Regions from separate parts of the Homo sapiens genome. Here regions 1, 2, 3, 4, 5 and 7 are each linked to region 6. The links are contacts of gene promoters, found by promoter capture Hi-C in blood cells and fetal thymus (Javierre and others, 2016). All regions are on one chromosome and are shown on one strand. Each heading gives the region's core, a stretch centred on a gene start or on the middle of the fragment in contact. The rest is flanking DNA. Distances are from core to core; before and after follow the strand shown.

Region 1 (3,037 bases), core at 440-2,939, 390 kb after region 6:
CACTGCGCCTGGCCTAGTCTACCTTTTTTTTTTTTTTTTTTTTTTTTTTTGAGATGGAGTCTTGCTCTGTCACCAGGCTGGAGTGCAGTGGCGTGATCTTGGCTCACTGCAACCTCTGCCTTCCGGGTTCAAGTGATTCTCCTGCCTCAGCCTCCTGAGTAGTTGGGGCTACAGGCGTGAGCCACCGCGCCCGGCCCCCCCCCTTTTTTTTTTTTTTTTTTTTGATAGTCTCATTCTGTTGCTCAGGCTGGAGGGCAGTAATGTGATCTCAGCTCACTGCAACCTCCACCTTCCAGGCTCAAGTGATGCTCTCACCTCAGCCTTCCGAGTAGATGGGACTACAGGTGCATGCTGCCACACCAAGCTAATTTTTTTTTTCTTTTTTTGAGATGGAGTCTCACTCTGTCTCCCAGGCTGGAGTGCAGTGGCTTGATCTCAGTTCACTGCAACCTCCGTCTCCCAGGCTCAAGAGATTATCCTGCCTCAGCCTCCCAAGTAGCTAGGATTACAGGCACGTGCCACCACACCCGGCTAATTTTTGTACTTTTAGTAGAGACAGGGTTTCACCATGTTGGCCAGGCTGGTCTCAAACTCCTGACCTCAAGTAATCCTCCCACCTCAGCCTCCCAAAGTGCTGGAATTACAGGTGTGAGCCACCGCGCCCGGCTACCAAGCTAATTTTTAAAATTTGTTTGGAGAGATGGGGTTTCACCATGTTGTTCCAAGACCCCAGTGCTTTTCGCCTCCATTAGCAACTACAGGAACATCTTCGTTCATCTCTGTCTCCCCACTTGTGAGATGTTCTCTTTAAGATAAACTCCCGGCAGTGAAGGGTGTGTGCATTTTAAAAGGTCTCAGATATGGCCAAATCATCCCCATTGCAACCTGTGATGGGGACTCTTTCCCATGCCCCTGCCACCACTGGGGAGCCCTTCTTGTTCATCTCACCAGCTGGAGCCCCCCTCTCTCAGTTTATCTTTGTCTCACACTCACCTGACCTTGCAGGGCTCGGCTCCTTGCTCCACGCCCTGTCCATGTGGCTTTTGCATCCTGAGGCATGAGTTCCTCTGCTCTGTCTGCCTGCTTTTCTCTATCAACCTGTCACCTTCCCTTCGGGCTCACTTCCTACCTCTCTGAGGCTCTGTCCGTCTCTGTCTCACTTTCCCTCTCGTCTCTGGTTTCCCTTCTCTGTCTCTCTGTTGCGGTGTCTCTCTCCTGGCTGGGTTTGATGTCTGTTTCTCCCTGACCACCTGCTCTGTCACTCATGCTAGTTTGGGTTCCCTACCCTGGTGCCTATTCTGGGATATACATGGGTATGTGGGCAGCCCTGGGCTGGCACATGCAGCCTTGGAGGCTCTGGCGTCAGGGACCCCCATGAGGGCTACCAGTAAGAACCAGAGAGAGCGACGGTTCCTGGCTTCAGCCCCAAACCCTGGCTGTCAATATCAGCCTTGGTGGGAGCCCTAGGCTTCCCTCTCCCTCTCAAACCCTCCCCAGGCAGAAGGCAACTTCCTCCCTTCTTCCGTCTCCCCAGGGGGCTCCCATACCTGCTCAGACCAGCTTGTCACCAAGTCTGCCTCATCCTTAAGTGGATCGCGATACCCCAGAAGAGCAGCTCCTGCCTGAATAGGGCTAGGAGGGGAAAAAAAAGAGGAAGAGGCTGTGTTCCTGAGCCACCCGGCCAGGAAGGGCCTGGCTGGGCCGGACGCCCCACCCTTGCCAACAGGCAGGCCCGCCCCGTCTCCGCCTCGCCGCCAACAAGGAGGACCAGCACCAGGCCTGGGAACTGCTGACCTGCCCGCCCACCTTCCCACCCAGACCCCGCCTTCCCGGGCCAGCGGGACATGACAGACCTGTGAGTCACTCAAGCCTGGGGCAAGGAGGGGCTGGTGCCTGAGTGAGACCCCGAGCTTCGCTCGCCAGGCCCGTCGCTCAGCTCCCGGTCTGGGTCCCCAGTCAGCAGTTGCTGGGGAAGGCGCAGGAGCTGGAAGTCATGCCTGATGCCACGAGACCGGGCACCCCAAGGGCGTGAGTCTTCTGTCCCTGTTGTTGGGTTCTGAGTCCCAGTGTGGCTGCACACTTCTGAGTTAGGGGTGTTTGATGCAAGCGCTCTGGAGACCCAAAGAGAGGGACAGTCCACACATGATCTGGCCACAGTCGTGAAGTCAAGGGAGGACTGAGGATCTGCCCCAGAGAGGAGGAGACCCAGGGAGCTGGCAGTCCAACGTCCTGGGGGTCCTGCAGTAATGCTGTTGGGACAAATGAGGTGCTCGGACAGGGTCTGTGAGCAGGAGGTGGGGCTGAATCCACTCAGCTTCTCATGGGATGGCTGTAGCTAATGGATTCGACGTGGTAATAGAAGGCTGGACAAATTTTAAAAAATCAATAAATTATGGGCTGGGCGTGGTGGCTCATGCCTGTAATCCCAGCACTTTGGGAGGCTGAGGCGGGTGGATACGAGGTCAGGCGTTCAAGACCAGCCTGGCCAACATAATGAAACCCGTTTCTACTAAAAATACAAAAAATTAGCCCGGCGTGGTGGTGGGCGCCTGTAATCCCAGCTACTCAGGAGGCTGAGGCAGGAGAATTGCTTGAGCCTGGAAGGCGGAGCTTGCAGTGAGCCGAGATCACACCACTGCACTCGCACTCCAGCCCGGGCGACAGTGCGAGACTCCATCTCAAAAAAAAAAATCAATAAATTATGGTTTAAAAATAAAAAACAGGCCAGGTAGGATGACTCACACTTTGGGAGGAGAGGCAGACAGATCACCTGAGGCCGGGAGTTCGAGACCAGCTTGACCAACATGAAGAAACCCAGCCTCTACTAAAAATACAAAAATTAGCCAGGTGTGGTGGCTTGCGCCTGTAATCCCAGCTACTCAGGAGGCTGAGACAGAAGAATCGCTTGAACCTGGGAGGCAGAGGTTGCAATGAGCTGAGATCTCGTCACTGCACTCCAGCCTGGGCAACAGAGCAAGACTCTGTCTCAAAAATAAAAATAAATAAAAATAAAAATAAAAAACTGCCGGGTGCGGTG
Region 2 (3,163 bases), core at 586-3,085, 350 kb after region 6:
GCTAAAGACCAGTGAGAGATGGAGGCCCTGGGTTGGCCAGCACGTCATGCCCAAATATGGTTGACTCTCCTGTAGCCCTGGGTGTCTACATGACACGTGGTGGGGCTGTGATCCGCCCAGCACATTCACTTCGGGGCAGCCTGTGGCCCCACTGGTTTTTCCCACTAGTAGTGGTGTTAGGGGGTGCAAATGGCATTTTCCAGTACTGAGGCCAACCCCTGTATATTGTCCCCTCTCCTGACCACTTTGAGACACACCTGCACCAAGTGCGCCTGGGCGTCTGGGAGCTGGGGTGGAGGTGGGAGGGAGGGCTGGGAAGGGGGAACCCATACAGACCCCTCCCTGCACGGGCCCCATTCAAGACGGGCTTGAAGTTGTCCTTCTGGTCCCCCTGCCCCACTGGAAAGCAAGTTCCCAGGCACGGAATTCCATCAATAATTGACTCTCTCTCCACTAAGGGCCATTGAGCTGGGTTGTCTGGGTTCATTCCTTAATCTTCAGAGCTCAGGGAAACTGAGTCAGAGTGACCAGTGGTCAATTCCAGCAGAAAGAGTGTCAGGAGGTGGGTGCCGTGTCTTCCAGCCCTAGCTTTTCCCTATTTAGAGGAAACAAGGAATGGGCGTGTAGAGGGTTCTTGTCCCTAGAACATAGTATCAACCGCCAGATGTCGCCCGATCCCAAAGCCACCAGATCGGGCAGTCCTGGGAAGCCAAAATCCAGCTCTTTCATATTTTCCCTTATTTGGAGTAGATTCTTGGATGTTAGGCACACCCCGCCCACCACACCACCCCTGGCCCTCAGACCCCAGGCCAGACCCTCCCACTGGGAGGTATAGCCCAAGCCCAGGAGCTGTTCAGCTGGGATCCCTAAGGAGCTGTTTCCAGGCCTGCGTAGCCAGGGGGCGCAGGAGGGAAGGAAGCCGCAGACTGGCAAGGTGAGAAGAGACCTGTGCTGGCAAGTCCAGGTGCGGCAGGTGAGGTCGCCCATTCCCAAGCTCCCACCTTGACGGTGCACTCGGAGCACTTACAAATGGGTCTGCCAGTGGATTTTAACCTATTTTGCCTGGCCCCAGGTGGCACGGGAATCTGGGGACATTGTTGGTTATATCCTGGCTGGCAGTGCGCATCCAACTCAGAGCCAACCTGGCATAGGGCCCAGGGCCCAACCAAGGAACCTGGCCTGGTCTCATCCTCACCATGGCCCCCATGGAGTAGAGCAGCCCCAGAACCAGCTCCCCTGTGCCCAAAGCAGCTGGTGCCCTGTGGACTCGAGCCAGCAAGGGACACGCTGTCCCCCTCCCAGTGGGCACACTGGCTGAGAAGTGTCCTTCCAGGTGGCCACTCGCCCTGAGTCCACACAAGTTCCTGGTGTCAGGGCCCTTCTCTCTCAGGCATGCAGTGGTCCGTTCATGGGCAAGTGCCCAGACACCCTCTCTCTCTCGGGGACCCCCCATGGCCTCAGGCTCCCACATTCGTGGGCACAGACATGGCTCGTGGGTCAACTAGGGAAGCTATTCTCTGGACACTCACTCCCAGATGCCAGGGGAGCCTCCATCGGCTCACGCATCCCAGCTGAACCTGGCCCGGACCTGGGCGCGAGCTGGCGCCTGCGTTTTCCGGCCTCTCTGCCCGCCTTCTCCAACCCCGCCCCCGGCCGACGAGGAGCGCGGCGACCCTACGGCGCGAAGCCGGGCCGCGGAGACCTCACCTGCTGTTCCTGAGAGCGACCGGTGACCGATGACCGCGGGGTGGCGCCCGGATCGCCTTCGCGCCCGCGCCCGCGCCAGGCGCCTCGGGGATTCTGTCGGCGTCCGCTGCGCGCGACGCGCCTCCACGCGAATGGGCCGCCGCCGCCCGCCTTCTTGTTGGCCGCACCCCCGCCCCGCGCCCGCCCCGCGCCCGGCCCGGCCCGGCGAGAAAGCCTTAATTGGTAAAATTGCCCAGGAGCCCGGGACGGGTGCGTGGGGGGCGGGGGTGCGGGGGCACGCCGTGAGCTCCAGCGACCCGCCGCCGGGCGACGCCGCCCCCCGAGATGAGCTCACCGCCGGCGAGGGCCGCCAGGCCCTGGGGGAGGGAGGGCTTCGTGGGGGAGTCGCCTCCAGCGCCCACAGGGACTGCAGGGCTCGTGTCTAGGCCCAATCACAAGGATCCTGCGTGTCTGAGTCTGGGGGAGCCAAGCGCACCCCAGGTGGAAAGGCCGAGGCCCAAGGCCACCTTCTCCAAGGAGCCACCCACAGTCACAGCCCCTGGTGTCTGTCCCAAGCCGGGATTGTTTCCTGGGGTGGGGGCAACAGGTCGTTGCAGGTGTTGGCTGGGCGCCTACGTCAGGCAGGGCCCCGGGACGGGACTGCAGGGCTCCGAGCCCTGGGATGAACCTGACTGCCATGGATCAGGCGCTGCCAGGTCTGGCCTGGGGTGGGCAGCAGAAACAGGATCGCTCAGGGGGACGAGAAAGTTAAGTTTGTTTAGTATTAAGAAGATTCTGATCTTAAAGAAAACATTGGCCGGGCATGGTGGCTCATGCCTATAATCCTAGCACTGTGGGAAGCTGAGGCAGGTGGATTAATTGAGCCCGGGAGTTTGAGACCAACCTGGGCAACACAGCAAGACACTATCTCTACCAAAAATATAAAAATTAGCTGGGCGTGGTGACGTGCACCGGTAGTCTCAGCTGCTCAGGAGACAGATGGGAGGATCGTTTAAGCCCGGGAGTTTGAGGCTGCAGTGAGCTATAATTTCACCACTACACTCCAGCCTGGGTCACACAGTGAAACCCTGTCACTAAACATAAAAAAAAAGGCCAGGTGCGGTGGTTCATGCCTGTAATCCCAGCACTTTGGGAGGCCGAAGTGGGTGGATCACGAGGTCAGGAGTTCAAGAACAGCCTGGCCAAGATGGTGAAACCCCGTCTCTACTAAAAATATAAAAACTAGCCGGGCGCAGTGGCAGGCGCCTGTAATCCCAGCTACTCGGGAGGCTGAGGCGGGAAAATCGCGTGAACCCGGGCGGCAGAGGTTGCAGTGAGCCGAGATCACGTCACTGCACTCCAACCTGGGTGATAGAGACTCCGTCTCAAAAAAAAAAAAAAAAAAAAAAAAAAAGGCCGGGCGTGGTGGATCCCAGCACTTTGGGAGGCTGAGGCAGGTGGATCACGAGGTCAGGAG
Region 3 (3,294 bases), core at 1-2,500, 430 kb after region 6:
AGCTCATGTACATCAAGGAGGACTTGATCATCCCTCACGTGAGTCCCTTCAGCCCCAGTACCCGCAGTGGGTGCAGCACCCTGGGCTTTGGCTCAGGCTGGTGGGGGCAGTGTGCGCAGGCGGGGGGTGTGGGGAGGGGCCGAGATGGACCATCAAGACGCCGCTTTCCTGCCCTTGGCTCCCAGCATCACAGCTTCTACGACTTCATCGTCACCAAGGCACGGGGGAAGAGTGGTGAGTGCCGCCGACCCAGCCGCCCCCATAGCACCTTGCCGCCGATGTTGTCACTGGGGCAGCAGCGGGACATTGGGCTGTCACTTCTCCCCTGCAGGACCACTCTTCAACTTTGATGTTCATGACGATGTGCGGTTGCTCAGTGACGCCACTGTGGAGAAGGATGAGGTACAGCGTAGGGGGCCGTGTGAGGGGGAACGGGTGTCCCTGGGCTATGGAGGAGAAGCCAAGGGAAGGGGAGGTCAGCAGGCGGCCCTGTGCCCTCTTCCTCCCTTAGTCCCATGCAGGCAAGGTGGTGCTGAGGAGCTGGTACGAGAAGAACAAGCACATCTTTCCCGCCAGCCGCTGGGAACCCTACGACCCTGAAAAGAAGTGGGACAAGTACACGGTGAGGAGGGGCTGGCAGGGACCCCTCCAAGTTGGGGACGGCAGCCAGCCCCTGCTCACCCCTCGCCTTCCTTGTCTCCTCTGCCCACCTTGTCCTCACACTAGATCCGCTGAGCATCCAGGAGGCTGCGCGGCCCCGGCTCCTCAGCTCCCTCAGTGTGCCCCGTGGTGTCACCGGGACTCCAGGCACCCGCTCCCCTGCGACCATGCCAGGCACGCTGGGAGGAGGACGGCAGCTGCTCGTGTCCTGCCCCTGCCACATCAGTGACTGCTTTATTCTTTTCCAATAAAGAAGTGCACGTGTCAGAGCTGGAGCGCCTGCATTGTGAGAAACCATTTGTGTTCGGACCAAATTCATTTGTCATTTTGACCATTTAAAACTGTACAATTTGGTGGCATTTAGCACATTTGCCATGTTGTGTAGTCATCACCCTGGTCTGCTTCCAGGACATTCTCATCCCTCCAAAGGCCCTGTGGCCATAGGCAGGCTCCTCCCCTCACATCCCCCCACCAGGCTCTCATGTGCTTTCTGTCTCCATGGATTGACCTGTTCTGGACGTGTCATACGTGCCTGGGGAGTCTGTCACCGTGGCAGCCCCACCATCCCTGAGGTGTCTTTGTGGCACTGTGCTTCTTGACCGTGGGCACCTGTCCTTGGGCGGTGGTGGCTCTGGTGGGTGGGAAGGGGGTTCCTCCCCAGGCCTCTCTCCCAGGCCCTTGGGCTCCTGTTGAGTTTCCCGTAGGGGACGTGGCCGTCCTGTGGCCACGAAAACCCATCCTGCCTTCCTTGCTGTGGGCCGTCCCAGCACAGTCGTTCTGCTGTGGTGCCCTGTGCTCGACACTTGCCTGCCCTGCCCTAGCTAGCCCTGCTCAGACAGCCCTTGGGGCAGGATCCAGATCGGGGGTAGGTCCAGGACCCCTACTCTGCCACCTCAGCAGCTGATTCCCCAAGTTCCACTTGGCTAAGCTGAGGCAGGCAGGCCTGGCTCCAGGAGGCTGAGGAAGGCCAGCTGACAGCTCCCTGTTTCCTCCCCTGGCCTGAAGCCAAGAAGAAAGGGCAGGGGATAGCCCCTCACTGGCCAGGATCACCCCAGCCCTGGGTCTGGCCTCCCCTTCCTGGCAAATGTGGAGATCTGATGGTGCCCGATAGTGCAGAGGCCCAGTGTCTCATTCAGCGTGGCCGGGAAGTAGCCACCTGGCGTCACTAGGAATAGAGATGAGAGTAGACTAATGTTTTCTTTCTTTTCTTTTCCTTCCCTCCTTCCTTCCTTCTTCCTTCCTTCCTTCCTTCTTTCTTCCCTCCCCTCCCCTCCCCTCTCCTTCCTTTCCTCTTTCTTTTTTTTTTTTGAGACTGGGTCTTGCTCTGTCTCCCAGGCTGGAGTGCAGTGGTGCAATCTCAGCTCGCTGCAGCCCCCACCTCCTGGGCTCAAGTGATCCTCCCGCCTCAGCCTCCTGAGTAGCTGGGACTACAGGTGTGCACCACAATGCCCAGCTATTTTTATTTTTATGTACATGAAAATTGGAACAGAATTAAAAAAAAATTTTTTTTGTAGAGATGGGATATTGCTCTGTTGCCCAGGCTGGTCTCGAACTGCTGGGCTCAAGTGATCCTGCCACCTCAGCCTCCCAAATTGCTGGGATTGCAGGTGTGAGCCACTGTGTTTGGCTGAGTAGGCTATTTGATGCTCTGGAACCAGATAAGGTCACCAAGGATCAGTGTGTGCCAGGGGTGGTCACCCACTTTGCTCACCCGGGCCTCGTTCCTGGGGGCTGTGTGTGTAGAAAACAGAGAGGGAAACAAACAAAACAAAATGTAGAACAAGATGAGCTGGCCTTTGTGGCGTGGAGACATTTAAGCTGACATCCAAATGACAAGAAGTCAGCCATTCCGATGCGGGAGGGAGTGTTCCAGGCAGAGGGAACACCAAGTCTGGGTCAAAAGTGAGCTGGAGGCCGGGTGCAGTGGCTCATGCCTGTAATCCCAGCACTTTGGGAGGCTGAGGCGGGTGGATCACTTGAGGTCGGGAGTTCGAGACCAGCCTGACCAACATGGTGAAACCCCGTCTCTACTAAAAATACAAAAATTAGCTGGGCGTGGTGGCAGGTGCCTGTTATCTCAGCTACTCAGGAGGCTGAAGCAGGAGAATCGCTTGAACCCGGGAGGCGGATGTTGCAGTGAGCCGAAATCACGGCACCGCATTCCAGCCTGGATGACAAGAGAGAAACGCCGTCTCAAAAAAAAAAAAAAAAAGAAAGAAAAAAGGTGAGCTGGGCTGGAACAAGGGGAAGCTACCTTTTTCCCTCATCTTCACTGTCCAGCAGAAGCCATGTATTCAGGCGGTTCCCATGTCAGCATGGAAGCCAGTTCCTGCAATGTCCCCAACAGAGATGTGCTTTTCTTCACTGCCTGCTTACCTGTTCTCTTTCTCTAGACAAAGACAAGCTCCTACGGCTGCTCCTCCTGGCCCTCACCTTTCTCGCATGAAAGGTATTGCGCTTGCATGCTGTTCGACACCGTGTGATATAGTGTCCATTAGCGATATATCCCAATACTCGGCATCTTTCCACATGGGTGCATAGAGACCCTCATTCTCTCTTCAGCTGCAGAGTCAGCATGGCAGATATTGGCCAACTCCACTCCTTAGGGCCTGCCCACTTGGCAGCCTCATGGGC
Region 4 (3,012 bases), core at 513-3,012, 340 kb after region 6:
GAAAAGGAAGGGCCCACTCCAGCCTAAGTGTTGACAGCCACTCCCTTGCCTACTCAGCCTCGTCCAGCACCATGGCCCACACTGCTGAACGCCAGCATCTGGCTGGGCACACGGCTGCCTGCGCCCTTCTGGCCTGGCCCCGGCCCCCATTGCTGTGTGTGGACGCGGTGAGGCGGAGTCCTGCTGCAGCGTGGGGGGATGTGACACTTGCCTCCCCACCCCCCAGGCCTGATGGTGAAACCGGAGTTTCCTGACAACTGAGAAGGCTCGCGGTGAAAAGCAGCCCGGTGCAGACAGGAGTGGGAGCGGGGAAGCGGGAGGCAGCGGGGTTAGCACCCGAGTAGCGCAGCGCAGCAGGCTTGGCAGAGCGGGGATAGCACCCAGGGAGACAGGGAACAGGAGGCCCAAGCTACAGCCACCACTGCTGGGTTGCGAGGGCAGAGCAGCTGAGCAGGCTCCAGGGCCCCAGAGTGCCCGAGGAAAGGGGAGAGACAGTGACGTTATGATCTGGGTCTCCGCCGTGGAGGCTTGGGGGGCTGTGGGCTGTGAGGCCTGGCAGTGAGAGTGCCCCCTGCAGCCTGGCCTCCTGCCAGGGAAGCAGCCAGGAGCACGAAACCTACTTGAAGGCCAAGCTCGAGGGGCCCTGCCACCAAGTCCCACTATCGGCCGAGGGCTCCTGCTGCACTAGGCTCCATGCTGGCCTGCCGCGGCCAGGCAGCTCTCCCAGGCTCCAGACCTGGCTGCCGGCTGCCCACGCTGCCCTGGGAGGCTTCACTCATGTGCACCCCATGCCATCTAGTTAGTGGCTTGGGCCCCAACCTCACAGGTACCCGACTGCCCCCACTTTCCCTGCCCGGCTCCCAGCCAACCGCAGGTCTCAGCCACTCCATCCTCAAAGTATGCCTCCTAATTTGGCTCTCACTGAAGCCCCGTGGCCGTCAAGCTTGCCAGAGAGCAACTTCAGCGCCCCCTTCCCCACCCCGGGCTCCCTGTCTCCATTCTGCAAACAGTAGCCAGGGAAACTGAGGTTACTGAGTCTTGCTCCCACCCTCAAAGCCCCCAAGGCCCTGCAATCAGTACTCCCCAGCCTCCCCCGCCCTGCGCACACACGCCTGTCACACACACATCGGATCCTACGGCCTGCTCTATAAAGCCATCTCGCTCCTGCCGCAAAACTCTAGCCACCCTCTCACCCTTTCCTTAGCCACCTCGCCCAAGTGCCAGGCCTGTAGCCTCTCATCAGCATCCCTGGGTGTCCCTGGCTGGGGCAGGTGACCCTCCATGCCTGTTGGGGAATGTCTGAATAACGTCACTGCTGGGGGATAGGGGAAGGGGGAAGGAGGGAGACGGGCCACAGAATGCACTTTGGGGCTCTGAGGCTGGGCCGGGCCCCGCCATGCTGGCCGCCCAAGCAGTCGACACTGGCGCTACTGCACTACCAGCCAGCCCCACCCGCTCATGCACCTCCCCCGGCCCGGGACGCAGAGGCCCCTGGAAGGTGGGGATGGGGGTCTGTGGATCTGGCCAGGGCTGGGGCTCCCATTGAGTTGGGGAGACCCCTTGTTCCCTCAGCCCACGCAGGAGCCCTTGTGCCTCCCTGGGTGCCAAGATCCCGAGACCCCAAAGTCCCCAGTGGGGTGCCTCTCAGGATGCACCTCACCCCAAAGCTCTCAGCTGCAACCCGAGTTCTCAGATGGGGAAATAAAGGCCCAGAGAGGGGAAGAGCTGGAGCGGTCATGCTCAGCTCCGGAAGCCTCCCTGGGCCCTCGCCCTCCAGCCCACGGCCTCATCTTCTGCACCCCACCCAACTCTGTCCCTGCCTAGAGCTGCAGCTGGAACTGTCCTGGGAATCGGCCCCAAGAGGAAAGGAAGCTGCCCCTCTGGGCAGGAGGGGCATTGGGAGTGGCCCCAGCAAGCAGCTTACCTAGCCCGTGACCTCCGATTGACACTGAGGTGAGAGGGCAGAGAGCAAGGAGAAAGGTCAGGTGAGTCACTCAAGGGGGCGGCCCCCACTCCCACACGCCGCCCCAAGCAGCGAGCCCTTGCACACAGGCACAACCCAAGCCCCGTGCCGAGCGCCGCAGCGGCCAACAGCGGGCGGGCTCACCTGTGACAGTGCACTTGCTGGCGTCCCCGGTGGGCACGGCACGCACGCGGTACGGGGAGAAGGGGATCTCGTCACCACCGTACTTGATGAGGATGGTGTAGCGACCTGTCACGTCTGGCACGTAGGCCACTGTATACGTGCCGTCATGGTTGTCTTGGATGTGTGTCTTCTTCGGCTTGCCTTCGGGATCCTGTGTGGCAGAGGCAGGGGAGGCAGTTGGCCCAAGCCCGAGTAGCCCCGGGCCTGCCTCAGGCGCTCCCAGAGTGCCCAGCGCTGCTGCTACAGGGACAGTCTCTGGGCCTCAGGCATCTTAACTGCTATGGCCCAAAAGGGCTGCCTGCACCTGGCAGAGTCCAGAATGGAGACTAAAACATCCCACACTTCCCACATGACAACAGGCGCGGCCAGCCAGCTTGGCACCCATCCTCAGCCCCAGGGCCTGGCCAGCACTAGGAGGAGCTCACCGGGGTGATCTCAAGCTTCTATCCTATACCTGCCCCATGAGAATATTACAGGTGGGGAAACTGAGGCACAGAAGGCTTTGGTGACGTGCTCAAAGTTAGCAGCAAGTGCACGTCTGGGGAAGCCTGTGCCTGTCACCACCATCCTAAGGTAGTCACAACCTTAGCAAACCAAAGACAGGGGCCCTGTCCTTCCCTGCCCTCCTTGGTGCAGCTCCGCAGGGAGATCAGACACCAGCCACCCGCAGCCCACACTCCAGCCGCCCAGGCCCCCCTGCCTCCCCTGCCTGTGCCCGGAGCTCACCGTGATCTGGACAGCCAGCAGGCCCTCCCCGGCGTCCTTTGCATCGATGGTGAACTCCACGGGCAGGCTGGCAGGCACGCCAGTGGTGTTGAGCCCGGGGCCACTGGCCTTCACCTTGCTGGCATCATGAGTAGGCAGCA
Region 5 (3,314 bases), core at 408-2,907, 310 kb after region 6:
TGCTTTTCTAAACCATGGCTCCATTTATGCCCTAGGGGATGTGCTTCATTCGGACCACCCGACCAGAAACTATGGTTATTTACACCCCACAAGAACGCTTTGAGATCGGACAGGCCAAGGTAAGGGCTTACGCGCTCCTGCGTTATTCAGTATCATCTCCTGTAAAAAGAACACTTCTGAATCTATCACCAGCTATCTTCAGAGTTGAGACATCATCCTTTCTTTGCTCTCATTTTTTTAAAAAACAGTTGTGACCTTTACCTGCTTTTCCTTGGGAAGGAACATTCTATGAATTTCAGCTTAGCCTGAACTTTTCTGCTTTCCAAATGGAGTCTTTTGTTGTTGTTGAGTTCAAAGATAGTAACATGAAGCCACTTGAGCGGTCGTGGCTATAATTTATCTTGGCCGCAAGCTAAACAAAACAGAAGCCAGCGCTTTGGGAGGCCAAGGCGGGAAGATTGCTTGAGGCCAGGAATTCCAGAGCAGCCTGGGAAACATAGCGAGATTCCCATCTTTACAAAAATTTTTTAAACTAGCCGGGTGTGGTGGCATCCACCTGTGGTCTCAGCTACTCAGGAGGCTGAGGAAGGAGGATAGAGGAGCGCAGGAATTCAAGGCAGCAGTGAGCTATGATGGATCACACCACTGTACTCCAGCCTGGGTGACAAGAGTAAGACCCTATCTCTAAAAACAAGACAAAAAATAATAGAAATCACTTGAAATGAATAATCTGTTAGGTTCAGATTTTACAGATCTAAGGCCAGGAATAAAAGGGAACATGATCTCTGGTATTCTCACAAAAGCCCTGAGAAGTTCAGATTATCAGTCCTATCTGTAGATGAGGATTGGAGAAAGTAAGTGTCTTACTTAAGGGTTTACAGCTTGTGAGTACCAAGACCAGAATCCAGGCCTGAGTAGTGAGCCCAGTCTCCCCAGGTCTGCCCACCACGCTGACCATCCCCTGCTCAGCCTGCCTGTCAGGGCCATGCATAGAGAAAAGCAGAAACGTCTATGGAGAAAATAAGTGACTCTGCTCATCACCTAGGGAGTGGGGCTTGTAGACATTTTGGCATGCTTCCTTCCTGTCTTTGTTCTAGGCATACATGTATATTTTACACAGTTGAGATCATACTGAATAGAAAGGTTTGCCCATAGCCACTCTTGAAAGAGCAGCAGGTAACATCCAATTTGGTTGCTAAGGACTAGGCTGCTCCAGAATTCACAGTTGCAAGTACTCAGAATGGCCAGAGTGCTGCCATAAAGCAGGTGTTTCCAGAACTGTCCACTGTGTGCCATAACGTAGCTGGAAAACGCCACCAAATGGAAAAGTTAGTGTTCACCTTTGGTGTTAACTACAGGTTCTGTTTCTATGGGGAGGGTCTCTTGACATTCACATGGTTTGCAGAGCTTGCTTATTTCTGTCGTCTCTTTTCTAATAATTTTCCTGTCCTGACAAAAGCAAGTAAATTTACTGATAGTAAAGGATGTGAGATAAATGTGTGTGATAACATGCATGGCATGGATCGTTAAAGGGCTGGGCTTTGAAAAGAGGACATGGATATGTGTGCATGCGTGTATAAGTATTTTAAGAGGCCAGGACATCCTTAAAGAATGGGGTGGCTCAGAAACCCTTTCTGTACTATCAGCAATGGTTCTTAAGCTACAGGGAAACCTATACAGAGGGGAAGTGGAGAATAATTCCAGATGCCTCCGATGGGTAGCTTTGGAGGCAACAATCTATGAAAGAAGCCCAGGAACTCTGTCTTTGCTTGCAGAATAGTACGTTGTCGAGAGCGAGGGCTTTGATGTCAGCCCCGCCTGGCTGTGGGTCCCAGCCCTGCCCTGGGCCACTTCCTCCTGCTCTGAGATTTGCTTTCCTCAGCTGCAGAACGGTTGTGCCACTGAACAGATCTTACAGGGAGGCTGTGAGGGTTCTCAGAGTTCAGGCACACAAGATCTTAGCACTCAGCGTGTTGCCAATGCCCAGAATGTTCTCATTAACATGTTAGTCACTGGAGTCCAATCTTTGCATGCCATAGTGAGCTCTCAAACCAGACTCCTGATGGGTATGTGGCGTATCCATGCTCCAGGACAGCTGGAGCAGTGTAATTTCCTATCAAAAAGTATGTGTCCTGGCTTGTAAATGCATCTGATTTTTTTAGTAGTGAGTTATTAAGGAGTGAAATTGTTAGAATTGGGGGATAGCGGCATAGCAAAGTGCCTTCCACTTTGACATGCATTCTGTGTGTAGTAACCACGGCATTCTGTTTTGCTGGCACTATACCAGGTCCTCCGCCACTGTGTCAGTGACAAGGTCACAGTTATTGGAGCTGGAATTACTGTGTATGAAGCCTTAGCAGCTGCTGATGAGCTTTCGAAACAAGGTCAGTTGGTTGAGTATGAGCATTGAAGTTCAAGCTGGGAAGAGGTAGGACTTCAGCTACCTCCTGTGCCCTGAGTGCTCTTTTTATTTTTATCCCTGCATGTTATTCTGAGTCTCTTTCTTGTACCAAGCTGGTTTTTGCTGTTCTGCAGATATTTTTATCCGTGTCATCGACCTGTTTACCATTAAACCTCTGGATGTCGCCACCATCGTCTCCAGTGCAAAAGCCACAGAGGGCCGGATCATTACAGTGGAGGATCACTACCCGCAAGGTGTGTGTGGGCATTGAGAATGCTTTGGAAGGTTTTGGTGTTTTTGTTTCCTTGATTGGCCACATGGCATGCTCTCAGGCATCACCTATAGTCTACCTCTCACCCAGCATGGCTTTGTTATTTGATGTTCACTAAGCGTGGGGCCATACTCATACACATCTGTGTGTCCCCAACAGAGTGCACAGTGCCCAGTCACCAGGGCGGGTCAGTGGCAACACAGAGGAGTGGCTATTGCAGGCAAGCGAGGTGTCATGAAAAGCATCGCAGTTTCTTTGGGTTTGGAATGATGAATAGTATGCCCCAGGCCAGGCGTGGTGGCTTACACCTGTCATCCCAGCACTTTGGGAGGCCGAGGCAGGTAGAGATCACTTGAGGCCAGAAGCTCAAGACCAGCCTGGTCAACATGGTGAAACCCCATCTCTACTAAAAATACAAAAATTAGCTGGGTGTGGTGGTGCATGCCTGTAGTCCCAGCTACTTGGGAGGTTGAGGCAGGAGAATCACTTGAACCCAGGAGGTGGAGGTTGCAGTGAGCCAGGATCATACCATTGCACTCCAGCTTGGGAAACAGAGTGAGACTCTGCCTCAAAAAAAAAAAAAAAAAAAAAAAAAAAAAAAAAAAAAAAAAAAAAAAGTGTGCCCCGACGAAAGCAGGTATA
Region 6 (3,047 bases), core at 1-2,500:
CGCACCCAAAGCCACCCTCCCCGATCTTGAGCTCCTCCGAGAAGTTGTGGGTGCCCCGGGAAATCTCACAGAGGGGCCAGCAAAACGGAAAGGGGCGGGCTCCCTGCAGGAGGGACACTGAGCTCTCTGGGCCTGGCTGTGGGAAGAGAGCCTGGATCAGGTGGGGTCCCTGTCTCTTCCCTTCTGCCCAAGGCTCCAGGCTCTCCCCACCACAGCTGCCTCCCAGCTGACCCAGCTTGGCTGACTGGGGCTCTGCGCTACATCAAAGGCTGAATTCCTTCCTCCTTGTCTCGAATCTTCCCTGGGGGGCAGGGGACACCTACCTTGGTAGAAGAAGGGGCTGGAGATGGCGGTGGAGGCCACAGGGAAGCAGGGCTTGGGACCAGGCCGAGCTCAGGCCCTGAATGGGTCTGGGAGCCTGGAAAAGCTTCATAAAGACACCAGTGAGAGGCAGGCAGAGACCAGCAGCAGGGTCTACAGCCGTGGCCGTGGTCAAGGTGGGCTCTTCTTTGGGTCCACCGAGCCTAACAACCGGGCCCTCTTACCTGGGGAGAGGAAGGTGGAGGCTGAGGATGGCAACTTCCGGGGGCTCCAGGCCTCGGCCTCGGCGGGTGCAGGGATGCTGCTGGGCCTCGGGGCAGTGGTGCCTGGGGACGGAAGCGGGGCGGGAGGGTGCCCTGGGACGCCAAGGAAGGAAAGGAAGGTTGAGGCCCGGGTGGGGGAGCCCCGTGGGGCCCGCCGGCCTCCCAGCCGTGGGGTGCCCGGAGTCCCGCGCTCACAGGCTGTGATGATGTCCCGCGCACGGAGCAGCTGCAGGTGCGTGAGGATGTGCACGAGGTCGGCCACACGGGCGTTGCGGTTGATCCAGGGCCACAGGACGCTGGCCGTGCGCTGCCCGGAGCGCTCGCACAGCCGCAGCTCGGTCTGGTCGCGCACGATCAGGGCGGCTGCGGGGCGGGGGGCGTCAGGCGTCGGCGCCAGGAGCCCGCGCGCCTCCCGCCCCCCGGCAGCCCGCCGCCACCCACCGAACTGGCACCAGTCGGCGGGCTCCAGGGCGTCCATCACTTTGTAGAAGCGGCACATGACCCAGGGCGGCACCTCGTACAAGAAGTGCTGGGCGCCGGGGGCTGCGGGCTCCCCCGGGCCCGGCCCCCCGGCCATGGCTGCCGCCGCCGGGCCGGGACCTGCCGGGGCCTCTCAGGGCCGCGGCGGGCGCGGGCCTGGGCCGGCCGGGTCCGCGGACACTGACTCACTTCCCCTTCGAGCCGGCCTCGTGCGACGCCCGGCGGGGCGGAAGGGGCGGTGCCCGGGCCCGCCGCCATCTTGCGCGCCGCGGCCGCGCGCTGGGTCACACGGGGGCGCCCCGCGCCGGGGAGGGCCCGGGTCCCGGCGGGTTCCGCGAGCGGCGATCGGCCTCCCGGGCTCGCCCGGGCGGGGCTCTGGAGGACGAACGGCGGCTCCCGGCGTTGGGGACAGAGGGCAGGGCGGAGGCCCGGGCTGCTCGGAAAGGGGCCGGGGCCGGGCCTTCCGAAAGCTCCTGGGCGGCCCTGCCGGAACCCTGCTCTCCACTGCGGCCTGCAGGGCTGTTACCAGGAGCCCTGCCTGCCCGCCCCACGTCTAGCCCCCTGCACACGGCAGCAGCCTTGAGCCATTCAGTCTCCTTAGGTGTCCTGAAATATGCCGAGAACGCTGCCCGCCACAGCCGTGAGTGTATGCGTTGCTGCTGCCCCAGCCCTCATTTGGCAAGGGTGAGCTCAGGCAGCTGTGGTGAAGGCTTCCTGAGCCCGCCGGCAGAGCTCCTGCCACCCCGTACCTGTCCCCTCCTGGGCATCGTCCTTGATTACTTGTCTGGACCGCCACCCCCGGTCCCCGCCCTGAGATGGGGAAGACCCCACAAGCAGCAACGCAGACTTACTCTTTTGTTTCTCCAGCTGGATGTCTCCTCCAGCGACAGTTCCCCTTGCCCTCTTGATCCTGACAGCGAAGGGGTTCCCCACCCCTAGCCCTACAGACTTAGGACTTTTCCTAGAAACGAGAAGTGCCCAAGGCCCACAGCTGGCCCCTGTTGGAGTCTCTTTCCTGAAGCCACCACCACTGTGGCCACTCCCAAGGAAGATGCCAACCATACCATGAAACCCATGGCTTCTCACGGGACAGACTTTACTGAGATGTACCAACTCAAGTATCTGAAATGACTGCACACCCATGCTAACCTCCACGGGGGCACTTGGTCCTACTTACACACAAAGGCCCATCAGCTCACGGAACAGGGCTGGCATACGAGATGCTCAATGCATACAAGTTGACTTTTCAACCCTGGGATCTACCTTTGAAGGCCAGGCCTTCCGAGGGTACCTTCTAGCATGTGCATGTGAAGCTGGACTCCTTTGAGCAGTTGTCTCCTCCAGCCCCTTACCAACCTGGTGAGGCTGCTCCTGAGAGCCAAGGAAGCCAGTAACAAGGGGGCCCCCTTTGGGCAAACCCCTCAGCCTGCCCTTGCCTGGTCAGAGAACCACGTTAGCAGTCAACAGAGGGCACGTGAGGGTCCTGGCCAGAATGAGACACAGGAGGAGCCACAGCCTGCGGGGGTGGGGGTGTCCAAAAGCACCACAGCACATCCAGACCTAGGGGGTGCCCCTACCATACGGGTCTGGAGCAGGGAGGTTGTGCTGCAGGCTGACTCATGCCAGGCCCTTCCCGTCACACGCTGGAGCAGTGTGCCTGGAGAGCACTGGCTTGGAAGAAGCTGAGGGGCCAGCGAGGCCAGCATATGGAGGAGGCTTCCCTTGGCCGCTCGTGGCAGGCCTGAAGGCAGCTACCTGTGTCCAGGGACAGCCAGATCCAATGAGGAAACGCAGCACCATGCTGTCATGTGAGCTGGAGGGGGACTTCTGTCTTATAATGAAAGCCCAGACCTTGAGTCACTTTCACAGAGAGATTTATCGAGAATGCTAACAGCACAGGATACAGTACTTCCCAACAAAAGGTGCAAACGCGTCACTTAGAAAGGCATGCTGAGTATTCTTTGCTTTCACATGTATTAAAAA
Region 7 (3,333 bases), core at 80-2,579, 470 kb after region 6:
GCTGCGGCATCCGGCTGTGAGGCATGCGGCCGCCTCCCTTGGGGTCATGTGGCGCTTGGCGCCCGCACCCCGACCCGACACACGGCTGCTGGCCTCGGCCCGCGCACCCCGGTCCCGCTTCCTGCGGGGCTCCCCGGGCGTCTCCTCTCCCTGGGTACCTGCCAGGGCCTTGCCCTTGAACAGCAGCCGCTGCTGGCGCACTGGGACGTTCAGCTTCTCGGAGACCAGCTGCTTCAGCGTGGACACCAGCTCGTCCTCTGGCACCTGGCCGCGCGGAGGGTGGGAGGCAAGGGTTGAGCCCGCGGCCCCCAGACGGCGAAGCCCACGCGTCCGCCCCCGAGGGCAGCTCTCCCGGCTCCCGGCCCTCGGCCCGGCCGCCCCGTGCCCGCCCTCGGCCCTGCCGGTCCCCCTGCCAGGAGCGGGCGAGAGAGCGCGCCGGACCCGGCGGCCCGGCCCGGGGACCCTACCTGCAGGCTGCACTCGCGGCCCTGCAGCGCCTTCACCGTCAGCTGCATGGCGGTCGCGACGGCGTCCACTCGGGCCGGCGCGCACCCCAACCACCCCCCGCCGCGCGCCGCCGCCCCGGGCGCGCGCTGGAACCGCCCGCCGCCGCCGGAAGCAGCGAGAGGGGCGCGCCCGCCGCCCGCGCTTCCCGGCCCCGCCCTCCTGCCCCGTCCGCGCCCCGGCCCCGCCCCCCGGCCCAATTGCGCCCCGGGAGGAGTCCCCCCGGGGTCCCGCCTAGCATGCGCGCATCGACCGCCCTGGCCGGCGGACCCCTCCCAAAGCAACGACGCGGGGGAGTTGGGAGCAGGAACCAGTCGGGCCAGGTTGGCGTCATCTGGGAGCTGGGACATGGAGAAGGGAGGGCCAGAAGGTACGCTCGCCCCCGCGGACTGCCTGGCCCACCTCACGCGCCAGGACTGCTGGCGGCGCCTGGCCCTGCATACCCACAGACGGCCCGCCCCCGCTCCCTGTCTGGTGGCTTCCTACCTCCTCCTTTCTGGTCTGGCTGCGAAACGCTCCACTGAGCTTGAGAGGGGGCAGGGGGGCTACGCCTCTGCCCTCATCCTCCCACCTCTCCCAGAGTGGGGACACCCCCGGGGAGGGCTGATAGGGAAAGCCTATGCAGGGGTCACCGTGTCACCCAAGCTGGCCCTCCACCCTGGTCCACACTTACCCAGCACACTCTTTCTACCCCCACGCCCAGGCCCCAAAGGGCAAAGAGTAGAAGGGACCCAAGCTTGCTTCTCTCTTTTATTGAAATATATTTTCTGGGCAGCGCCCACCTACCTAACTCAGCATGGCCTCTTTGGCACTGAAAGCTGGAGAATAAAAAATCAGTAAAAAAAATAAGCCTGGATTTTTCTGAGTGCATAGTGCATGAGAACTTTGGTGGAGTGTGGGGGCTGGGGCTGATGAAAGCTTGACCCAGAGGCCTCAGGGAACTGGGAACAGGCTGCTGTAGATGAAGTGGCCAATGACCAAGGCCAGCATCTCGGAGGTGCCGCTCAGCGCCACAATGAAGGGGGCCTGGGAGGCATAGTCAGCTTGAAGGCGGCGGAGGGATAGCTGCAGCATGGCCAAGGCCAGCAGGCTGTTCTGCACCCCTACCTCAATGCTGACCGTCCGCCGCTGGGCCACTGGCAGCTTCAGACACGTGGCTAGGCAGTAGCCCACCAACAGGCCAACCAGGGGCACCGTGATACCCACCAGTACGATGGGTAGCCGGATGCCTGCCAGGATGAAGACCCCCATGCGATAGGCCAGGAAGAGGCCGCCCAGGAGGAGCACAAAGCTGAAGGGCTTGACGACCTGCAGCAGCAGCTGGGAGAACTTGGGGAGCTTGGACTTGATCAGCACGCCCACGGCTATGGGGATGGCAATGAACAGCAGGGTCCCCAGGATCTTGGAGATGGGCACGTGGAGCGTCTCATGGATGCTGAGCAGGCGGCTGTAGATGGCCGAAGACAGAGGCAAGAAGCCAGTGGCAGCCACCGTAGAGAGGAAAGTCATGGAGATGGCCAGGGTGACGTCCCCTCCAAGAAGGAGGCTGAAGAGGTAGCTCCCCCCGCCGCCAGGCGACGAGCAGGTGATGATGAGGCCCAGAGCCAGGGCCTTGGGCAGCATGAAGACCTTGGCCATGAGGAAAGCGTACAAGGGCATGACCAGAAACTGGCCCAGGAGGCCCAGCAGCATGGGCTGGGGGCTCTGCATGAGCCCCTTCAGAACCTCGAGTTCCACTTTGCACCCAAACGAACACTTGTTGACAAAGATAAGAGGCAGGAGCAGGTAGAGGATTGGGTTTTCCGAGAAGTGGGCCAGGTCGGCGCTGAGGGTGGCAGGCGTGTCTTCAGCAGGTGAGACCTTGATGCAGAAGTCTCTCCGCTCCTCAATCAGTGTGGGCGGGGCCTCATGGGCGTCCACGAGCTGGATGTGGAGTGGGGCCAGCCCAGCCAGGCCTGAGTGGATGCTCACCACAAAGCCACCCCCGCCTCCCCAGGTTATAGCACTCACGTTCTTGATGGTCAGCACCTCTGTGTCCAGGGAGGTGACCCTGAGCATGGGGCCAGGCGCCGTCCTGTTGGCCTGGCCTGGGTACTGGCTGGAGATCACGATGATGCCCTCACTGTCCTCAGGAAACTCAAACTCCATCACAGAGCCATCTCCAATGCTCAAGTAGCGGCCCCCAGTCGGTGGCACGGTGTGACCCCCAGCAGTGCTGAGGCTGGTGCTGGCTGTCCCTTGGGCCCCCCATGGCAGGCTGATGAGCAGCAGGGCAGCTCTGAGCATGCTTAAGGGACCTGTGCCACCACCCTCGCCCCCCAGACCAGGCCACTGCTGAGAGCTGCCCTTGTCCTGCATTAACACCATGGCTCTTCCTGGAGGACGGATGGCGTGCCCAGGCCCTCTGCGGCTTAGGAGAACATCCCCACTGGTGCTGTTGGGTTGTCCTGAGAAGGGTTCATGGGTGGGTCCCAGTCCTGTGCTGTCTTCCTTGATGGCAGGGCTGTCCCTGAGGAGGTAAGGGACACAGAGAGGCAGCTGGTGAGGGTCACTTACCCTGGAGGCCTTGGTCCAGCCATGTGTCTTACCTCTGAAGAGGGAGGCAGTCAAGAACCCAGGAGCATGGGGATCTGGAAGCCCACTGCTAAGAGTAAAACTCAGCAGGGACCCTTGCCCCACACTCAGGAATGGAGAGGCAATGCCTAGTGATGGCCCTTGAGTGCCATTCAGCTGTGGCTCCCTGGCCCACTCTACCTGCCCCTACAGTGACTCGATGAAGGTCCTGCTGGGAAGCAGGTCCTCCCTCCCCAGGGAAGTTGCCAGAAGGGG

What was found. The method cuts DNA at HindIII sites, captures the fragments that hold promoters and counts their contacts. A CHiCAGO score of 5 or more calls a contact.
Region 1: the fragment with the promoter of DNASE1L1 here is called in contact with the fragment with the promoter of IRAK1 in region 6 in 8 of 17 cell types (total B cells, monocytes, naive B cells and 5 more); the score reaches 9.6 in total B cells.
Region 2: a contact is called between the fragment with the promoter of FLNA here and the fragment with the promoter of IRAK1 in region 6, in 4 of 17 cell types (M0 macrophages, total CD8 T cells, non-activated CD4 T cells and 1 more). The highest score is 7.6, in M0 macrophages.
Region 3: a contact is called between a fragment that was not itself captured here and the fragment with the promoter of IRAK1 in region 6, in 1 of 17 cell types (monocytes). The highest score is 11.2, in monocytes.
Region 4: a fragment that was not itself captured here is called in contact with the fragment with the promoter of IRAK1 in region 6 in 3 of 17 cell types (monocytes, naive CD4 T cells and total B cells); the score reaches 7.6 in monocytes.
Region 5: a contact is called between a fragment that was not itself captured here and the fragment with the promoter of IRAK1 in region 6, in 5 of 17 cell types (monocytes, naive B cells, total CD4 T cells and 2 more). The highest score is 10.4, in monocytes.
Region 7: a fragment that was not itself captured here is called in contact with the fragment with the promoter of IRAK1 in region 6 in 11 of 17 cell types (total B cells, naive CD8 T cells, non-activated CD4 T cells and 8 more); the score reaches 15.5 in total B cells.

What each region holds. Positions count from the first base shown.
Region 1 is chrX:154,407,565-154,410,601 of GRCh38, forward strand. It overlaps DNASE1L1 (deoxyribonuclease 1 like 1), which reads right to left and starts at 1,690. Exons shown (of 8, transcript NM_001303620.2): 1 at 1,548-1,690. The HindIII fragment of the contact is 12,936 bases long and covers 1-3,037 here.
Region 2 is chrX:154,372,799-154,375,961 of GRCh38, forward strand. It overlaps FLNA (filamin A), which reads right to left and starts at 1,836. Exons shown (of 48, transcript NM_001110556.2): 1 at 1,708-1,836. RefSeq lists silencers at 111-170, 1,713-1,772, 1,783-1,922 and an enhancer at 574-623. The HindIII fragment of the contact is 17,250 bases long and covers 1-3,163 here.
Region 3 is chrX:154,449,698-154,452,991 of GRCh38, forward strand. FAM50A (family with sequence similarity 50 member A) reads left to right here. Exons shown (of 13, transcript NM_004699.4): 9 at 1-38; 10 at 186-234; 11 at 332-402; 12 at 512-622; 13 at 727-957. The coding sequence ends at 735. MIR6858 (microRNA 6858) reads left to right here and starts at 623; the gene lies at 623-689. The HindIII fragment of the contact is 4,829 bases long and covers 1-3,294 here.
Region 4 is chrX:154,355,327-154,358,338 of GRCh38, forward strand. It overlaps FLNA (filamin A), which reads right to left. Exons shown (of 48, transcript NM_001110556.2): 28 at 2,873-3,012; 29 at 2,108-2,297; 30 at 1,925-1,948. Among named protein-coding and RNA genes, the nearest start is that of FLNA, 18 kb to the right of the region's middle. The HindIII fragment of the contact is 1,643 bases long and covers 942-2,584 here.
Region 5 is chrX:154,325,304-154,328,617 of GRCh38, forward strand. TKTL1 (transketolase like 1) reads left to right here. Exons shown (of 13, transcript NM_012253.4): 10 at 36-119; 11 at 2,288-2,384; 12 at 2,536-2,655. Among named protein-coding and RNA genes, the nearest start is that of TKTL1, 31 kb to the left of the region's middle. The HindIII fragment of the contact is 6,606 bases long and covers 1-3,314 here.
Region 6 is chrX:154,018,652-154,021,698 of GRCh38, forward strand. It overlaps IRAK1 (interleukin 1 receptor associated kinase 1), which reads right to left and starts at 1,251. Exons shown (of 14, transcript NM_001569.4): 1 at 1,026-1,251; 2 at 780-947; 3 at 546-677; 4 at 324-427; 5 at 1-136. The coding sequence starts at 1,161. MIR718 (microRNA 718) reads right to left here and starts at 1,338; the gene lies at 1,269-1,338. It overlaps MECP2 (methyl-CpG binding protein 2), which reads right to left. Exons shown (of 3, transcript NM_001110792.2): 3 at 2,922-3,047. RefSeq lists silencers at 621-690, 701-800, 1,151-1,530 and enhancers at 1,216-2,185, 2,301-2,370. The HindIII fragment of the contact is 4,941 bases long and covers 426-3,047 here.
Region 7 is chrX:154,486,070-154,489,402 of GRCh38, forward strand. It overlaps UBL4A (ubiquitin like 4A), which reads right to left and starts at 546. Exons shown (of 4, transcript NM_014235.5): 1 at 468-546; 2 at 159-264. The coding sequence starts at 515. SLC10A3 (solute carrier family 10 member 3) reads right to left here. Exons shown (of 2, transcript NM_019848.5): 2 at 1,242-3,013. The coding sequence starts at 2,871. The coding sequence ends at 1,438. RefSeq lists silencers at 1-79, 570-829 and enhancers at 1-752, 1,090-1,149. The HindIII fragment of the contact is 182 bases long and covers 1,239-1,420 here.